Linked DNA regions of Homo sapiens: region 1 is linked to region 2. The links are contacts of gene promoters, found by promoter capture Hi-C in blood cells and fetal thymus (Javierre and others, 2016). All regions are on one chromosome and are shown on one strand. The core of a region is centred on a gene start or on the middle of the fragment in contact, and the rest is flanking DNA. Distances in the headings are between cores, read along the strand shown. Region 1 has its middle 2.2 kb from the start of DACT1. Region 2 holds the start of PCNX4-DT (PCNX4 divergent transcript).

Region 1 (4,331 bases), core at 1,357-3,856, 1.5 Mb before region 2:
ACTTGTGTAATCCTAGCATTTTGAGAAGCCAAGGCGGGTGCACTGCCTGAGCTCAGGAGTTCAAGACCAGCCTGGCCAACACGGCAAAACCCATCTCTACAAAAAATATAAAAATTAGCCTGTAGTCCTAGCAACTTGAGAGGCTGAGGAAGGAGGATCACTTGAACCCAGGAAGTCATGGCTGCAGTGATCTGAGATCGTGCCACTGCACTCCAGCCTGCGTGATAGAGTAAAACCGTGTCTCAAAAAAAAAAAAAGCCACTTGTCTCTGAAACACTTTTAAATTTTGCTTTGAAATCAAATCCTTTCATTGTATTAGTACCACAGTATGTGGCTCTAGGTATTTGCACACATGGAACTCTGCACCTTCCATCTGTAAAGATGACCGGTAGAAATGGCAGAGCTAAGGGACAAAAGTCTGAGGCTGGTGGAGACTTAATCACCTTAATCAGTGATTACGACGGTGGGGAATGCAACTCACTTCCAGACATTCTAGAATCTTTGGAATCCACAGTGCTCTGCAGGAGGAAGCAGGAGCCTCTTGAAAAACTTACCACCAAACTTCATGGAATCACCCTGGCCTTCTTCAACAAAAACCTCTTTAACAGCACTAAAACACAGCTAAAAGGTAACCTTTTCATGTAGGATGGTTTATTTGGTAGTGTTTGGTTGTGCACCAGAGAGGATGGAAGGAGTTGTTTCATAGCCTTTCAAACAAGACCAGCATTGTCAAACATTTGCTGTTTCTTCTGCTATTCCCCTATTCCCTTCTGCCCTCAAAAGATGTTTAAAATTTTCAGGGCCATGATGTTGCCCCATTTTGCTACCACGCTTCTTTTTTCTTGATCTTTTGTTTCAATGTCTGCTTTCTTTCCCCTGTGTGCTCACTGAAGCCTGATTGTGGGGTCAAGCTATAATTAGTTTATATATGAAGTTTAATTCACTGTGGCTTTTTTGGCATTAGACTCAAATGGGCTTTGATGTCTGGCTGGGGCTTTGATCCCAGACCCTCGAATGGTGGTCATCTCTCCAGCTCAAAGGATTGCCCTTTACTCTTTTCCTCCTATTCGGAGACAGCTTTTCCCAATTACATCATTTGTGTTTGTTTGGCCATAAAAGCTGCAAGGCATCATTTTGTTGCTTTGCTTGATGGCAAAATGTGCAACTGATGCCCCTTACTTTGCTTGGCTGCAATAGAATGTTCACCGCTGGACAAGGCATTTGTAGAATGATGCTCAGACTTTGGTGGGGGTGCTGTTAGGAGCTGTTCTGCCTAAGGACAAAGCATCAGACTGTGTGATATGAGGGACATGTTCTGGCTCTGCCCAGGAAAGATCTTCAAGCATAAGTTAACACCACTGTAATATATTCAGCCAAGACTCTTTTTCATGCTGGCAACTTTATCTTACTCTCCAGATCATCCAGGCAGCAGGTCCACCCCATCGTTAGTGGTACACTTTCTGAGTGTCAATTAACAGTTTTTCTGAGCAGACAGGCGTGTCCAGGGAAAGCAAAAGAACCAACTAGGGCTGAACAACATTAGAAAGGAGATAATGAAATAGCACTAGTGGAGGAAGAAGTACCAGCACCTGCTTTAAAAAGAAAGGGAAAGAAAAATCAAAACAGTAGGGGGAAGTGAGATTCCGTTGGCAACAGAAGGGAGCAGTAGGCGATCACTTTCAACTGCTTCCGGAATACCTGCAACAAAAACAAAGAATCAAAGAGGAAAGAAAATCCAGGCAACTAGACTGGAGGGGAGAAAATTTGGCTGCTAGCTTAAAAAGAGAATAGGGGCAACCCAGCCTGTCTCACTTAATCTGATGACATTGGGAGTTTTCCTGGAAAAACAATTACAGCATTGAGCTCCTTGCTTCTAACTTCATTTGACAGCCTGAGTTTGTTTTAATTGGCATGTGAATGAACAGCATTATTTATTAATGTGTAATGGATACTTTGGAAAGCATAACCTTTTTTCCTATTCGTGACCATTTTATTGGCGGAACCATCTGAATATATTAGTTTTAATATTTAAACTTGCTGAGAACACTTTTTCATGGAGATATACAAGCTGTTACGGCAAATGGCTTGCTTTGGACTAATGAGCCAGCTCAAAGTGGCATTTGGTGAGGAGGGGGGTTGGGAGGGTGGGGAGGTTTGGAGACATAGCGAGCTTGTCTGCCTGACTTAAGATTTATTAGTAGTGTGTAAAAATGTGTTTCAGCTTTTTTTCCCCCTCAACTATACAAATATAGTTGTCGATGTGTGACATAACACAGGCCACAATAATAGACTCCACCCAGTCAGAGGAATCTAATTCAGAGCTGGAAAGCAAGAAGCTTGTTTAGAAATGAGCAGAATGAAACAATGACAGAGGACATGGGTGAGTGGCATTTGGCAAGCAGGATAAGTCACTATCCTTTCGTGCCTTACTAAAATTAGGGAGGAAAATTAGTTCCTATATTATAAAGTAGTGTTTGGCAACAGCAGGCATAAAGAATAGATAACCTGAAGAGAATCGATTTTGTATGCTTATGAACACCTGACCATAATTCCATTTTTAGAGCTAATATACAACCTTGTTAATTATGAATCAAGTTTGTAGTTCTTTCATGTCTGTGGGAGGCAGCAATGGGGAGGAAAGTGAAAGGTGGCAAGGGAGTTCTTTTGTTTTTGTTTTTTGGTAAATGTCAACTTAATTCTATTTGTAGTAGAGATTAAATGGGTACTATTAAGTTTAAAAGTATGCTAATGAAAAAACAATTTACAACCAATCTACATTCTCGAGTCTCTCTCTAGCAATTGTCAGGTGAATGCTTGCAAGGTAATGTGCTGAATACAGCGATACTAAGAGGGTATTAAAACAGTCCCTGCCTTCAGGAAGCTTTCATAATGTAGATGGAGAGAAGAGATACACATAAACACCTACGTAGATAGATATGCGTGTGCACACCCAGATAAATAACCATACAGGTAGCATGGGATCAGAATCAGATATTTATATAGTTAACTGGAGCTCAAAGGTTGGAAGGGTGGTTAGACCACACAGAGAGGGGAGGAAAGAAGAGGAATTCCTAGCACGGGTAAGCAGATGGGCAAAAGTGCAAGTGTCTGAAATAATGATATAGGATGCACTCTTTCACACAACACTTTGCCTGAACTTCAGCAATTGTGACTTGCTGGATTGAATTTCCGAGGTTCTTGGATGTACTGCTTTTAAAGATATATGTGGTACTTTTCCACAGATAAGCCAGCTAGTGGAATTTTCAGACCCCTATCCCACCGGAAATTTCAGTGGGATAGGGGTCTGGAGTAGTGTGTTCCAAGCAGAGATGACCAATACATGATACTTCAAGAGGGAAGACTTATAAATCCCTCTGGAGAAAAGCTACAACTCATATCACCTTTACTATCTATGTGCTAGCCACGTTGTAAGTGCACAGCCCCCACAATATATAGCATATGCTGCATACTATTATAATTCTTCAACAGCAGGTTCCCATAGCAGCTGCTCCCTTTTACAGTGGGGGGAACGTACACAGAGAAGGGAGTAAGTTGCCCGCACAGCTATTTAGGGGTGAAACTGGGATACAAATCCAGACAGTCTGATTTCTGAGTCAGAGCTCTTATTGTAAACGCAGACTAAGTAATAATAAAAGCTCAAACAAAAACCAAAGCGCGCACGCGCGCGCACTCAAATCGTAGGCTTGTAAAAGAATTGATGCAACCTCTCGCTATACAACGACATCCTCCTGCCTAATTTTAAATGCCGTCCATCGTAAGACCGACGTTAAAAAATTAAAACGACAACAAAACTTAAGTTTTAGAACACTGCATTGTGCTCTGTATTGCTTGCCTTTACAAAGTGGAGTTAAGGAACCAACCCCACAGTGTCTGTGAATACACTTGCAATACCTTGCTTGGGAAGTGAAAGAAACCTAACTCGGTGTGAGTGGAAATGAGGAGTGGCCGTGTGGGGAAAGGGTTAAGACTGTGCTGCAACTTGGTCGAGTTTCAGAAAGTTCTCCGGAGAGCCCAACTGCCGCGTCCCGTCGCGGCCCCTGCCTGCGCGGCCGACTGTAACAGGATGCTGGGGCTCCAGGCGCTCGCCCCGAGCTTTGGGCGACGAGAAAGAGCCAATGAGGAGCGAGGGCAAAATCGGGTGCAGTAAACCCGAAAAGGGGGCGAGGAGGCCCGCGAAGAGAGCGGGGGAGGAGGCGGGGAGGGGCGAGGAGGGGCGGGGAGGGCCGAGCGAGGAGGAGGCGGCTCTGGGGGCCGGGCGGCGCGCCTGACAGAGGAGGGGAAGCCTGGGGGCGCAAGCGTCGCAGCCGAGG
Region 2 (4,107 bases), core at 1,226-3,725:
GAGGGTTTATGGTGTGGGTTTTGCTTTTGTTTTACTTTTTAGCAAGAGAAGTTAACTTGGGTATGAACTGAAAACGGGCATTACCATTACACAATAACACGTATGTCATGATAATGCCTGGCTAAACATCTTCTCTGGCTGAAGCAGCAGTTCCAGATTTTTCACAATTTGTTTCATTTTATGTGAATCAGCAGGGTAGGAAAAAATACACGAATCTTGAAGACATACAGATACGGACTCAACTCCAGATGTCATCACTTATTTTACTTTTCTCAAGCTCAGATTCCTTACATTTGAAATAATAATAAGCTACCTCATAAGGTTAAGATTAAATGAGGTACACAAAGTACTGATTCTATGTATGCTCTAAGTATGTGTTGAATGAATTAAAGAATAAATGTTCCCCTACCTGGAATACCTCTTCTCCCAGCTAACTCTGTTTTTGTTTTTGTTTTGTTTTTTTTTTTTTGAGACAAGATCTCACTCTGTTGTCCAGGCTGGAGTGCAGTGGTGCAATTTCGGCTCACTGCAACAACCTCTTACCTCAGCCTCTGAGTAGCTGGGACCACAGGCGCACACAACCACACCTGGCTAATTTTTTGTATCTTTTGTAGAGACAGGGTTTCACCATGTTGCCTCAAACTCCTAGGCTCAAGCGATCCTCCTACCTCAGCCTCCCAAAGTGCTAGGATTGCAGGCAAGAGCCACCACGCCTGGCCCAGCTGTCCACTCACCCTTTAAAAATGGATTGCAACCATCCTTAATTTCCCCAGAATTATGTGTCCCACTTTGTTTCTGAAGCTCAGCGCATACCTGTTTATCACATACACTGTAATTACTGATGTCCTTGTTGTTCAAGTTATGTCCTTGATGTCCAAGTTATATTTTGGTAAATTCCTTAAGGATCATGTTTTATTTGACTTTATATCTGCAGCAATTAGTGTAGTTCCTGACAAATAGGAACCACTATTCCCTTCACTATTTCAATAAATGTTGAATGAATATTTTATACACAGCTAACCAAAGGGCTTGTACCATATGCCCTACTAATTTTATTCTAAGAAAGCACGATGTTCAAATATATTTGAAAAACAGCAGATATTTCAACAATAAACATGTTAATTCTGCTTGGGTCATATGTAATGCCCATGAGAAGAACAAGCATAAATACAGACTCTCTACATAAAGATAATAGCTCATCCTTACTAAGCACTTAAGCTGTGCCATTTACTCTGCTAAGCAATTTACAATTATTTGATTTAATCCAATGACATAACTCTCTGCGGGTTAAGTTCTATTATTTGCCTTATTTTACAAGATATGGGGAAACTGAGCACTAGAGAAATTACATAACCTCAAGATCTCACAAGTAGTAAGCAGTAGTGCCAGGGTTTCAACCCAGACTTCCTGACTCTGGAGCCTCCACTCTTAATTACATGAAACTCAGACTTCTTGGCGGTAAGTGATGCTTCCGAGATGCTTAATGTGGTACTCTGACCCGCAATGAGTGAGCTTCAATGAGAAAAACTATGGATGGACCAACAGCACGTTTTCCCATATTCTATCAAATCGTGAAGATACCAAACTATGAAAGGGTCTACCTGCAAATTAAGTCCTTGAAGACAAGTATATGTATATCCGGGGTTTTCTTCCACATGCTTTCAACACACTACACTTTTGCTCTGGACACAATATCTTAAAAATAAATAAATAAAGCTTTGGCTTTTAATATGAACACAGTAATTATTTTTCTATTACGACCTGAAAACCTAAATACTTAAATACAAAGTCAGCATTTCCAAGACAGCCAAGAGCCAAGAATTAAAAAAAAAAAAAAATTAAGGCCGCATTTATAGTTTTGAGGAATGGAGATCCAAACAAAACAGTCCACAAGTCATCTTGGACGCTGAAGTGTGCAGAACTGCTAGGGCATCTACCCAATCACATGGGGGAATTGCGGGTACCTTGATACCGACAAGTTAGCTTCAAAGTTCCCTTACCCGAGCCTCTAAATCAGCTGAGACCAATCATTGTTAACGCTCTCCGGGGCCGTCTTGAGGACTCCCAGTTGGCAATCTGGAACGTGTCCAGAACTTGGTGGGGCGGGGGGGGGATCATATTTCGTGGAGAATGGGGGAGGTGAGCCCTGGGTATAGGGATAACTTTTTAACTAGCGTTAATTGGGGTCTTTGCGGCCAGGCTGTAAAGATTCCCGCCACACTAATATGAATCAGCCATGGCCTTTTAATTGGAACGCCGGAACTCTGCCTTGTTTTATTAATATCTTAATAACACGTTTCTATAATGGACATGTTGGTTCCTTGTATTTTAAAACGCAGCCACAAACTGAGGCGATAGCGATCACGTTATGCAGTCCCCAATCGTCCAAGCCGAATAGGCTGCATGAAGTATCACTCAAAAACATTCATTACCGTCGGTGTGTTGAGTGGTAACGCCAGTGTGCGAATTCATTAATGGAAATCACGGGACCCCGAGCGGTTGGAGATCTGCCACACCCCTCTGCCTGCGTTAAGACAGCCTGACCCGACCTCTGGTAAATTAATGCGCAAAATGGCGGTTGCACGTCTGTTTCCCCACCCCGGCGCACAATCCTGAGGAAGGACGTCACGTCACCAGGGCAACGACGCTCTTGCGTAAAGGCCCGGCCCAAGGGAACGTTCAGGGCGTCTCGGCTTTCCCCGCTGCTGCTTCTGCTAGGCCCAGTGCGAGACCAGAGCACGAGCGACTCCCGTCGTCCCCGGCCAGGCAGATGTTGGCCTAGTCCTGGCGCGAACGAAGCGCGCTATTTCCCTGCTTCCTCTAGGCCAAGCCTGCTTTACGGCAGGGCCCGCCTCGGGAGCGAGCACAGACCGGGGCAGCGAGGCCAGCCAGGCGCCGACGAGGTCCCCGAACGCGCACGCGCTCCGTTCAGCTCCGGGTGGCGGCCGCCGGAGTAGACGTTAGCCATGGAAACCGAGAGCTGGCCCGGGCGGGGCCGCGGTGAGCTCGTTATTCGGCCGCCGCAGCTTTTCTGCCTCCGCATTCGGGCACTAACCAACCTCCCGGCGGGAGCGCCCAGCCCGAGTTTACCTGCAAAAATGCGGTCCCTGGGATGCCTTCGCGTCTTCTCTTCCCTCGGGTGACTTGAGGTACGTTCGTTGTCCGACGTCCACCTCGGGACTTCTTCGGCATCTTAATGTCCAAGCCTGTGCGGAGAGCCAAGTTGTTCTAGGGGCTTTCATTGCCACAAGAAACATATTTTTCGTTTTTCGTTGCAAAACCTTTAAGTGCAATTATTGCGCTTAATGAACTCAGTCATTAGAGATAGTAATTCAGTGTGATTTTAACTTTCCTTTGAAAGACTACTTTAGCCTGTTGAATTGTAGCATTTTGTTTCTAAGAGACTCGTACGAAATGGAATATGGCACACCCACCCGGAGCTGTGTCCGTTAGGTAGAACTGTACTCTCGCAATATCTCCAACTAAACCTCTTTTGTCCGAATTGTTCAACTCATGGCCCCCTGAACGTGAAGCGCTCCTTCCCCACTGATCTCGACCTCTGTCCCCACAACCTCTTGTCTCTCCAGGACCAGAATTTACTCCAGTGAATCGGAAGTTGTTTTCCATGCCGCTGAATTGGTTATCTGCTCTGTATCCATCATTTTTCACTTACTCATTTTTTACTATTTTTAGGTGTTTGTTTTCTTCATTAAATCATTCCTGCAGTTAGGGCAAAGACTGCCCTTCATGTTATTTGGTATCCACCGCCACTCACGCCAAATCCCCAGACCTTTAGCATAGCATCCAGTTCAGATGTTGCCTTTTCACGAATTTAACTGTTTGTAGCATCTGTTGGCTGCTCCTAAATTTCCTACTTAAAGAGCTGCCTTCTAATTATTAACTGCTGTGGAAAATACCAATCAGGGAAGCTTTTTCTTTTTTAAGAGCTTTATTGAGATGTAATTTACATTCAATACAATTCACCCATTTATAGAATTGTGCAACCCTTACCACAGTCAAGTTTGGAACATTTTCATCACCCCAAAAAGAAACCTTTTACCCTCAGCAGTCACCACCTCCCTCCCCCCATTATCCTTACCCCACCAG

What was found. The method cuts DNA at HindIII sites, captures the fragments that hold promoters and counts their contacts. A CHiCAGO score of 5 or more calls a contact.
Region 1: a contact is called between a fragment that was not itself captured here and the fragment with the promoter of PCNX4-DT in region 2, in 1 of 17 cell types (naive B cells). The highest score is 5.7, in naive B cells.

Annotation. Positions count from the first base shown.
Region 1 is chr14:58,633,558-58,637,888 of GRCh38, forward strand. It overlaps a transcript of DACT1 not described here. Among named protein-coding and RNA genes, the nearest start is that of DACT1, 2.2 kb to the right of the region's middle. RefSeq lists a silencer at 4,196-4,331. The HindIII fragment of the contact is 545 bases long and covers 2,335-2,879 here.
Region 2 is chr14:60,089,271-60,093,377 of GRCh38, forward strand. It overlaps PCNX4-DT (PCNX4 divergent transcript), which reads right to left and starts at 2,476. Exons shown (of 5, transcript XR_943918.4): 1 at 2,433-2,476. PCNX4 (pecanex 4) reads left to right here and starts at 2,653. Exons shown (of 11, transcript NM_001330177.2): 1 at 2,653-3,149. RefSeq lists enhancers at 2,474-2,603, 2,694-2,883, 2,847-3,480. The HindIII fragment of the contact is 2,213 bases long and covers 1,715-3,927 here.